3 separate regions of the Homo sapiens genome follow, and regions 1 and 3 are each linked to region 2. The links are contacts of gene promoters, found by promoter capture Hi-C in blood cells and fetal thymus (Javierre and others, 2016). All regions are on one chromosome and are shown on one strand. Each heading gives the region's core, a stretch centred on a gene start or on the middle of the fragment in contact. The rest is flanking DNA. Distances are from core to core; before and after follow the strand shown.

Evidence for each region. The method cuts DNA at HindIII sites, captures the fragments that hold promoters and counts their contacts. A CHiCAGO score of 5 or more calls a contact.
Region 1: a contact is called between a fragment that was not itself captured here and the fragment with the promoter of ANKS3 in region 2, in 1 of 17 cell types (M1 macrophages). The highest score is 5.1, in M1 macrophages.
Region 3: a fragment that was not itself captured here is called in contact with the fragment with the promoter of ANKS3 in region 2 in 2 of 17 cell types (erythroblasts and M2 macrophages); the score reaches 5.6 in erythroblasts.

Annotation. Positions count from the first base shown.
Region 1 is chr16:4,864,957-4,867,717 of GRCh38, forward strand. The region is part of intron 7 of UBN1 (ubinuclein 1); the gene reads left to right. Among named protein-coding and RNA genes, the nearest start is that of UBN1, 19 kb to the left of the region's middle. The HindIII fragment of the contact is 204 bases long and covers 1,162-1,365 here.
Region 2 is chr16:4,732,955-4,735,654 of GRCh38, forward strand. It overlaps ANKS3 (ankyrin repeat and sterile alpha motif domain containing 3), which reads right to left and starts at 1,317. Exons shown (of 18, transcript NM_133450.4): 1 at 984-1,317. DNAAF8 (dynein axonemal assembly factor 8) reads left to right here and starts at 1,583. Exons shown (of 10, transcript NM_139170.3): 1 at 1,583-1,744. RefSeq lists silencers at 1,103-1,162, 1,213-1,442. The HindIII fragment of the contact is 25,292 bases long and covers 1-2,700 here.
Region 3 is chr16:4,911,061-4,913,760 of GRCh38, forward strand. All of the region lies in intron 1 of PPL (periplakin), which reads right to left. LOC124903637 (a long non-coding RNA gene) reads left to right here. Exons shown (of 3, transcript XR_007064965.1): 2 at 1,391-1,471. Among named protein-coding and RNA genes, the nearest start is that of PPL, 25 kb to the right of the region's middle. The HindIII fragment of the contact is 174 bases long and covers 1,289-1,462 here.

The sequences.
Region 1 (2,761 bases), core at 14-2,513, 130 kb after region 2:
TTTTGAGCTGGGTGCTAAAAGGCTACAGGTGACTTTTCTTAGAATAAATAAAACAGCTCATTAAAAGGCTGTTGGAACTCTTATAAATCAGCATGATTGGGATGTTTAACCTCATTTACTAGTTAACTTAGGATTGATTAATTCACACAACTTCTGGGGTAAGAGTGTCTCTTTTTAGGGGTGAGGGACCCCATTTATTTTTGGAAGACTATCAGATATATATCCAATTGCTCTTTTAATTAGATTTACTTTAAAATGCCGCAGTCGACTCTTCAGTATAAAGCCAGACCCTCAGAGATATTGTCTATGCAATTCAAAAGGTTTACAGAAAAGTACTTTCTAAAATTACATAATATTATTTAAAATATTTTTAAAGATTGCGTAAAGATTACATAGAAAGCTTCTGAAATATTGTACAAGTGGCTATCTAAACAGAAAATTTGGCAGGGCGCGGTGGCTCATGCCTGTAATCGCAGTACTTTGGGAGGCCGAGGTGGGAGGATCACCTGAGCCCAGGAGTTCCAGACCAGCCTGGGTAACAGAGTGAGAAAAAAAAATCTAAAAATTAGTCAGGCGTGGTTGCGTGCAGCTGTAGTCCCAGCTGCTTGGGAAGCTGAGGCGGGAGGATTATTTGAGCCTGGGAGGTCAAGGCTGTATGAGCTGCGATCACGTCACTGCACTCCAGAATGGGTGACAGAGTGAGACCATCTCAATAAAATAAGATGCTGGGCATGGTGGCTCAGCCTGTAATCCCAGCATTTTGGGTGGCTGAGGCGGGCGGATCACTTGGGGTCAGATGTTTGAGACCAGCCTGGCCAACATGGTGAAACCCCATCTCTACTAAAAATACAAAAAATTAGCCGAACATGGGGGTGGGTGCCTGTAATCCCAGCTACTCAGGAGGCTGAGGCAGGAGAATCACTTGAACCCGGGAGGTGGAGGTTGCAGTGAGCTGAGATCACGCCATTGCACTCCAGCCTGGGCAACAGAACAAGACTCCGTCTCAAAAACTAAACTAAAATAAAAAAATAAAAAATAATAAGATAAAATTTGATTGGAAGTTTAAGCTGTAGATGGGTCTGAAAGTGTGGCATGTGAAATACATGTTAATTAGTTTGAATTAATGTAAGGGTGCTTCTCGATCTTAAAACTAGCAGTGTAAGCTTAAGCAAAAAAAGTTCAGTTTTATTTTTTCCCAGACTAATATAATTCTAGTACCTTCCAAGTGCTAAGGTAGAATTCTGAATGTTTCCAAGAGTGTAAGAAATTGGCACATGGCTGGGTGAAAAGTCATGCCCTTTTTTTCCATTATTCGTCTGTGGATTTCACCCCTCTGGGCTTTCACCTAGCCAAGGGATCTGTAGAAGCTTGAGTTTTGCGCATTTTCTTCTGACTTAGTTTTGGTTGTTTGGTGTTAAGCTTTTCTTCCTGTGGCGTGCCGTTTTACAGTAGTATCTTCATTTGTTGATTCATTCACTCAGTCAACATTTAGTAAATATTATGTGACAGGCAGCCATGGGAAATATACTGATGAATAAGACTCAGTTCTATATTTTATTTTATTATTATTTTTTAAGACAGGGTCTTGCTCTGTCACCCAGGCTGGAGTGCAGTGGCACGATCTTGCCTTACTGCAACCTCCACGCCCAGGGCTCAAGTGATCCTGCCACCTCAGCCTCCAGAGTAGTTGGGACCACAGGCATGCACCACCATGCCCAGCTTTTTTTTGTATTTTTAGTAGAGACAGGGTCTCATCATGTGCCCAAGCTGGTCTGAAACTCCTGAGCTCGCGTGTTCCGCCCACCTTGGCCTCCCAATGTGTTAGGATTACAGGTGTGAGCCACCGCGCCGGGCCAAGGTTCCATTCTTGTCTTTCATGAGCTCGTTACATAAATGGACCCGATAGATACGCAGACAATGGACTGTAGTACAGAGCAGAATGAAGTAAGCTTTGTGATGTGTGGACGGCCAGATAGCCGGACTTAAGGGGTTAAAGAGAGGCTCTTGGGGGGCATATAGGAAGCAGACTGGAGGCAACAGGCTTCGCCGGCCTCCTGGGGAAGATGCCCTAAGAGAAGGCAGGGAGCAGAGCTGAAGATGGGCGAGTTGGTGGATGGCTGGGCCAGATCGTGGAGGACCCCAAATGCCATGTGAAGGAGTTTGGGTTTGATACCAGGCTTGGAAAGAGCTGCTGAAGGGTTCTGAAGAAGGGAGTGGCGGTCTTAAGGTTGGAGTGCAATTATTAGAAGTGGGGAACACAGGGGAAGAGCAGAAGCCAGTGGGTCTGGTGTAAGTTGAGTTTGCAAACCAGAGGGTCATCCATCCACAGAAGTGCAGTTGACCCTTGAACAACACAGGGTTTAACTGCGTGGATCCACTTACACGCAGATGTTTTCTAACCAAATGTGGGTTGATTTGAGGGATGCTAAATCTGTGTATAGAGGGCTAACTTTTTGTATAGGCAGGTTCCTCAGGGCTGACTGTGCAGTTGGATTTTGGTATATACGGGGGTCCTGTAACCAATCCCCTGCCTATACCAGGCGTTGACTGTAATTGGGAAATTTCTCAGAGATAACTGGAAATTCTGGTCCAGAGCTTAGATGAGAGGATTTAGGGCTTAGTTTAGATTTGAGTGTACAATTGTCTGTGTTATTTTGAAGCCCTGAGGGGGAAAGAAGTTATTGGGAGAAGTGGGTTCTAGTGAGAATCCTGGGGTCCGCCTATGGAAAGGAGCTGGTGGAGGAGGCAGATGGAGCAGTTA
Region 2 (2,700 bases), core at 67-2,566:
GAAATAAGCCAGGCACAGAAAGATAAATATTGCATGTTCTCAATTATTTGTGGTTATCTAAAAATCAAAACAACTGAACTCATGGACATAGAAAGTAGAAGGATGGTTACTTCTAGTGTAACCAAGGCTGGGAAGGGTAGTGGAGGGTGGGGATGCTTAATGGATACAAAAAAAACAGAATGAATAAGATCTAGTATTTGATCAAGCCACTGCACTCCAGCCTGGGCGACAAAGCGAGACTCCGTCTCAAAAAAAAAAAAAAAAAAAAAAAGATCTAGTATTTGACCGCACAACAGGGTGACTATAGTCAATATAATCTAATTGCACATTTTATTTATTTATTATTATTTTTTTTGAGACATAATCTCACTCTGTTACCCAGGCTAGAGTGCAGCGGCGTGATCTCGGCTCAATGCAACCTCCGCCTCCTGGGTTCAAGCGATTCTCCTGCCTCAGCTTCCCGAGTAGCTGAGATTACAGGTATGAGCCACCATGCCAGCCTAGTTTTCGTATGTTTAGTAGAGACGAAGTGTCCCCATGTTGGCCAGGCTGGTCTCAAATCCTTGACTTCAGGTGATCCGCCCGCCTTTGCCTCCCAAAGTGCTAGGATTACAGGCGTGAGTGAGCCACCGCGCCCGGCTGCACATTTAAAAATAATTCAAAGAGTATAATCATATTGTTTGTAACACAAAGGATAAATGCTTGAAGGGATGGAGACCCCCATTTTACATGTGATTATTACGAACTGCATGCCTGTATCAAAATCTCTCATATACGCCATAAATATATACACCTACTACGTACCCACAAAAATTAAAAAATTTTTAAAAATCTTAACAAATGTGATGCTGGTGGTAACTGTCACGCCCACAGAGGAGGTCTGTGAAAGCACCCAGGCACCCCCTCTCGCCCCGTGGAACCGCATCGCAAAGGTAGCTCACTGGCCCCGGGGCGGGTCCCTGGCCGACAAACCCGTAACTCACAGCAGTGACGCTTCCCGACGCCCCCCGGCCACATCCCCACAGGAACGCTACGGCGCACAGGGCATTACTGTGCCCCCACCACAACCACATAAAGAAAATGTGGGGGCTCGGTCCTCCAGTCACGCGGCGAGCAAGTGCAGCGCGGGACGCCCGAGCGCCGGGTCTAGGCGGGCTGCAGGTGCCGGCAAGTGCTGGGGCCGGGCCGCCGCGGAACCCACCTGTGCTGGGCCTCAGGCCTTGCGCCGCCCTCGGGCTGCCGTCGCCAACCCCCCCCAAACAGCTCGCCGCCACGCTCCCTCGCCGGGGCACCGCCCCCGGCACCCGCCCCGGAAGTAGTTGCGGGAGGGCGCGGAGCACGCCGGGAAGCTCGCGGGTCGGCACCGGGACAGCTCCCGGGCGCCGTGGAATGCACACGTCCCGCACCCGGACCTTCCGGTCAGCTTCCCGGCTCGCTGTCTGATGCCCGCGGTAGCCAATGAGCTAGTGGTGTTTGTCCTGCTCCGTCCCCGCCCTCCAGGGGAACCAATCCCATTGCAGGAGAGGCAGGACGCGCAAAGGCCCGAAAGAGGAGCTGGGCGGGGTGGGGGGAAGGCGGAGGCAGTCTAGTAATGTAAAGCTCCGCTGAGAGGGAGAGTGCTGAAGAAGGGGACAGCCTCTGTACCTGCGGCGCGGCCCGAGGGGCGGACGCGAGCGGAGTGACGCGCTGGAGGCTGTTTATAGCGCTGTCAGGACAGCGCGGGGAGTGGAGGCAGAGGCCTGAGGTGAGGGGCCTCGGGCCTGCTGCGCCTGCAGGGAGTTGAACAAAACGCGGGGAAATACGGGCTGGGGGTGGGTGAGAGGAGGAGCGATGGGCTTTCCACTTCCACAGCTTTAAAATTTAAAAGCTCGACCCGGGAGGCTGTTGGCGTCTGGTTGCCATAACAACCGGCAGCCTCGTGGCAGGCCGGCTGGGGGCGGGGCTCTGAGAACCGGGGCGGGGCTGTGGCGGGGCTAACAGGCTGCAGCTGAGAAACCCACCCCGAGACGGAGCCGGAAGGCCGTTATTCAGAGGCGGCTCCGAGCCTCCCCTTCGCCTTCTGGATGCTCTGAGCTCCTCAACTTGGCGTTCAGGGCCCTGCATTGTCTGGTCCGTTTTCACCGGAGAGTCCAGCAACTGACACTTTCTTCCCTTAAACCTGTTGGGCGGTTCATTCCTTTGAGCTACTGTACATGCTCTTCCTTCTGCCGGTAATGCCGTTCCCTCCCCTATTGTCTTGTCCGCCTGAAGGGTTTATCAGAGTCTCTGGAGGCCCTCTTCATCCCGACGATTCTGTTGCCCTAAGAAATACTGTGCCCTGAATTGCGGAACAGAGCTCTAGTTACAAAAAACACCCGCTGGCTGTGTGCACCAGATGCGTCCCCAACCCGCTGCTCCCAGTTCAGAGTGCACCAAGCACCTGCCCTATTCCCAGAAGTACAGAGGAAGCAAGCAGCCCCCAATTCACATCTCCTGCCGCTGCCCTGATTGGGGATGAACGGGCACTGACTGCAGGGCCAAAGCCACAGCGGCCTCTCGAGCTGCAGAGTTCTCCTGACACTGGCTCTAGAGGACCCTCACCCCCCAGCTCTCAAGCTCAAGCTCCCCAGCCCCCTGAATAACAGGACCATCTCCTTTAAGACTCTAAGATATAAATGCAGGGGCTGGTCAGAGTAGTGACTCCAAAAAAAAAAAAAAATC
Region 3 (2,700 bases), core at 126-2,625, 180 kb after region 2:
TGCCCACAGAGCCTTTGAGGTAGTTGGGCTGTTCCCATAGGGCAACATCACTAAAGCCACAGAGACAAGGCAGCGCCTGGCAGGCGGTCAGCCTCCTTTTTTTTTTTTTTTTTTTTTTTGAGATGGAGTCTTGCTCTGTCACCCAGGCTAAAGTGCAGTGGCGTGATCTCAGCTTACTGCAACCTCCACTTCCTGGGTTCAAATGATTCTCATGCCTCAGCCTCCCCAGTAGCTGAGATTACAAGCATGCACCACCAAGCCTGGCTAATTTTTGTATTTTTAGTGGAGATGGGGTTCCACCATGTTGGCCAGGCTGGTCTTGAACTCCTGACCTCAAGTGATCCACCTATCTTGGCCTCCCAAAGTGCTGGGATTACAGGCGTGAGCCACCGCGCCCGCCCAGCCTCCACTTTGATCATTCTCTCTAATGCTTCTATTTTTTATTTTTATTCATTCATTCGTTCATTCATTCATTCATTCATTCATTTTATTGAGACGGAGTCTCACACTCTTGCCCAGGCTGGGGTGTAGCGGCACAGTCATGGCTCACTGCAGCCTCTATCTCCCAGGCTCAAGCAATCCTCCTAGCCCAGCCTCCCAAGTAGCTGGGACTACAGGCACATGCCACCACTCCTGCATAACTTTTACATTTCTTTTGGTAGAGAAGGGGTTTCACCATGTCACCCAGGCTGGTCTCGAACTCCTGAGCTCAAGCAATTCGTCCACCTTGGACTCCCAAAGTGCTGGGATTACAGATGTCAGCCACCAGGCCCCGACTACATATTTTTTTGTGAGAGATAGGGTCTCACTCTGTCACCCAGACTGGAGTGCAGTGGCGTGATCATAGTTCACTATAGCCTCGAACTCCTGAGCTCAAGCAATCCTCCTACCTCCACCTCCTGAGTAGCTGGGACCACTGGCACCACCAGCACACCCAGCTTCTAATGCTTCTATTTTGCCATGTTGGCAAAACGCACCATATTTGAAAAATTGGGAGATAACTCACATACCGTAAAATTCACCTGTTTAAAATACACAGTCACTGGCTTTTAGTACTACACATTCAGAATCGTGCAACCATCACCACTATCTCATTCCAGACATTTTTATCACCCCAAAGCTCCACACCCACAAGCTGTCACTCCCTATTCCCCACCCGCTCCAGCCCCTGGCAACCAGGAATTTACTTTTTCTCTCTATGGATTTGCCTATTCTGGACATTTCATATAAATAGAATCACACAACACGTGGCCTTTTGCGTCTGCCTTCTCTCAGCATAATGTTTTCAAGCTTTGTGCATATTGCAGCATCTATTAGAACTTCATTCTTTTTATGGCTGAATAATATTCCATCACGTGGCTACTTCACATTTTGCTTATTCATTCAACAGCTGACAACCATCTGGGCCGTTTCCACCTTTGGGCCATCGTGAGAATCACGCTGCTATGAACGTTCGGGAACAAGCTTTTGTGTGAGCAGTCTTATTTTTAATTACCTGATATTTTTCTTTCAACCTACTCGTTTTATTTTAGAGTTAAATGTGTTTACAAAGGTAACTTCTCTCCCCATTTTAATCAGAAATCAGAAGCCCTCACCATGAGTGAATTAGCTGCCAAAATAAATTTCATGGGAACGCAGTGGCACTGGGTTCCGTGGTGACACTGGGCTGCCCGCTGTTACAAGTCAGGAGGTGTGACAGCCGTGGTGGCGTCAGGCCCAGCCTTTCTCCTGATCTTCTCAGAGCGCCTGAAAGAGACTTGAGGCCCGGTGTGGTGGCTCATACCTGTAATCCCAGCACTTTGGGAGGCCAAGGCGGGCGAATCACCTGAGATCAGGAGTTTGAGACCAGCCTGGCCAACATGGTGAAACCCCATCTCTACTAAAAATACAAAAATTAGCTAGGTGTGGTGGCATGCGCCTGTAGTCCCAGCTACTCGGGAGGCTGAGGCAGGAGAACTGCTTGAACCTGGGAGGTGGAGGTGGCAGTGAGCTGAGATTGCACCACTGCACTCCAGCCTGGGTAACAGAGCGAGACTCCATCTCGAAAAAAAAAAACAAGAAAAGAAAAAAAAGTCTTGAAAGCAGACTGGCCCTCTCCCTCACTGTCTCTGTGTCCCCTCCTGTCACATTTGTCTACTGCCCCCCGTCCCCCAGAACCACAGACAGACCACTCTGGAAAATGCTCTAATGGGAGTTAGTTAAGACTTTGGCCCTGGGGTTAGCTGTGGGTTCAGATCTTGGCTCCCATCAGCCACTTAGTGGCTGTGTGACTTGGCCCAGCTCCCTTGCCTATCTGTGCCTCTGTCTCCCAATCCGATGGACTAGAGTAACAGTCCTTTCCCGGGGCCAGGGTGGCAGGGGTTATGAATGGAAGTGAGGTTACACTACCAAAGGACTGTGCATAGAGCCGGGCACAGAATAAGTCTGAACAAAGGTTTGTGATTTTAGTTGTCAAGGAGCCTTAGAGATCACCCAGCTCTGCCTCTGTGGTTTTGAGACCGAGTCTCACTCTGTCACCCAGGCTGGAAGTGCAGTGGTATCATCTTGGCTCGCTGCAACCTCCACTTCTTGGGGTCAAGTGATTCGGCTGCCTCAGCCTTTTGAGTAGCTGGGATTACAGGTGTGAGCCACCATGCCCAGCCTCCTTCTGTTGTTTTCTTTAAACAAAGAAAGAAAGGGAAACCAACTTGGCCATTGTCA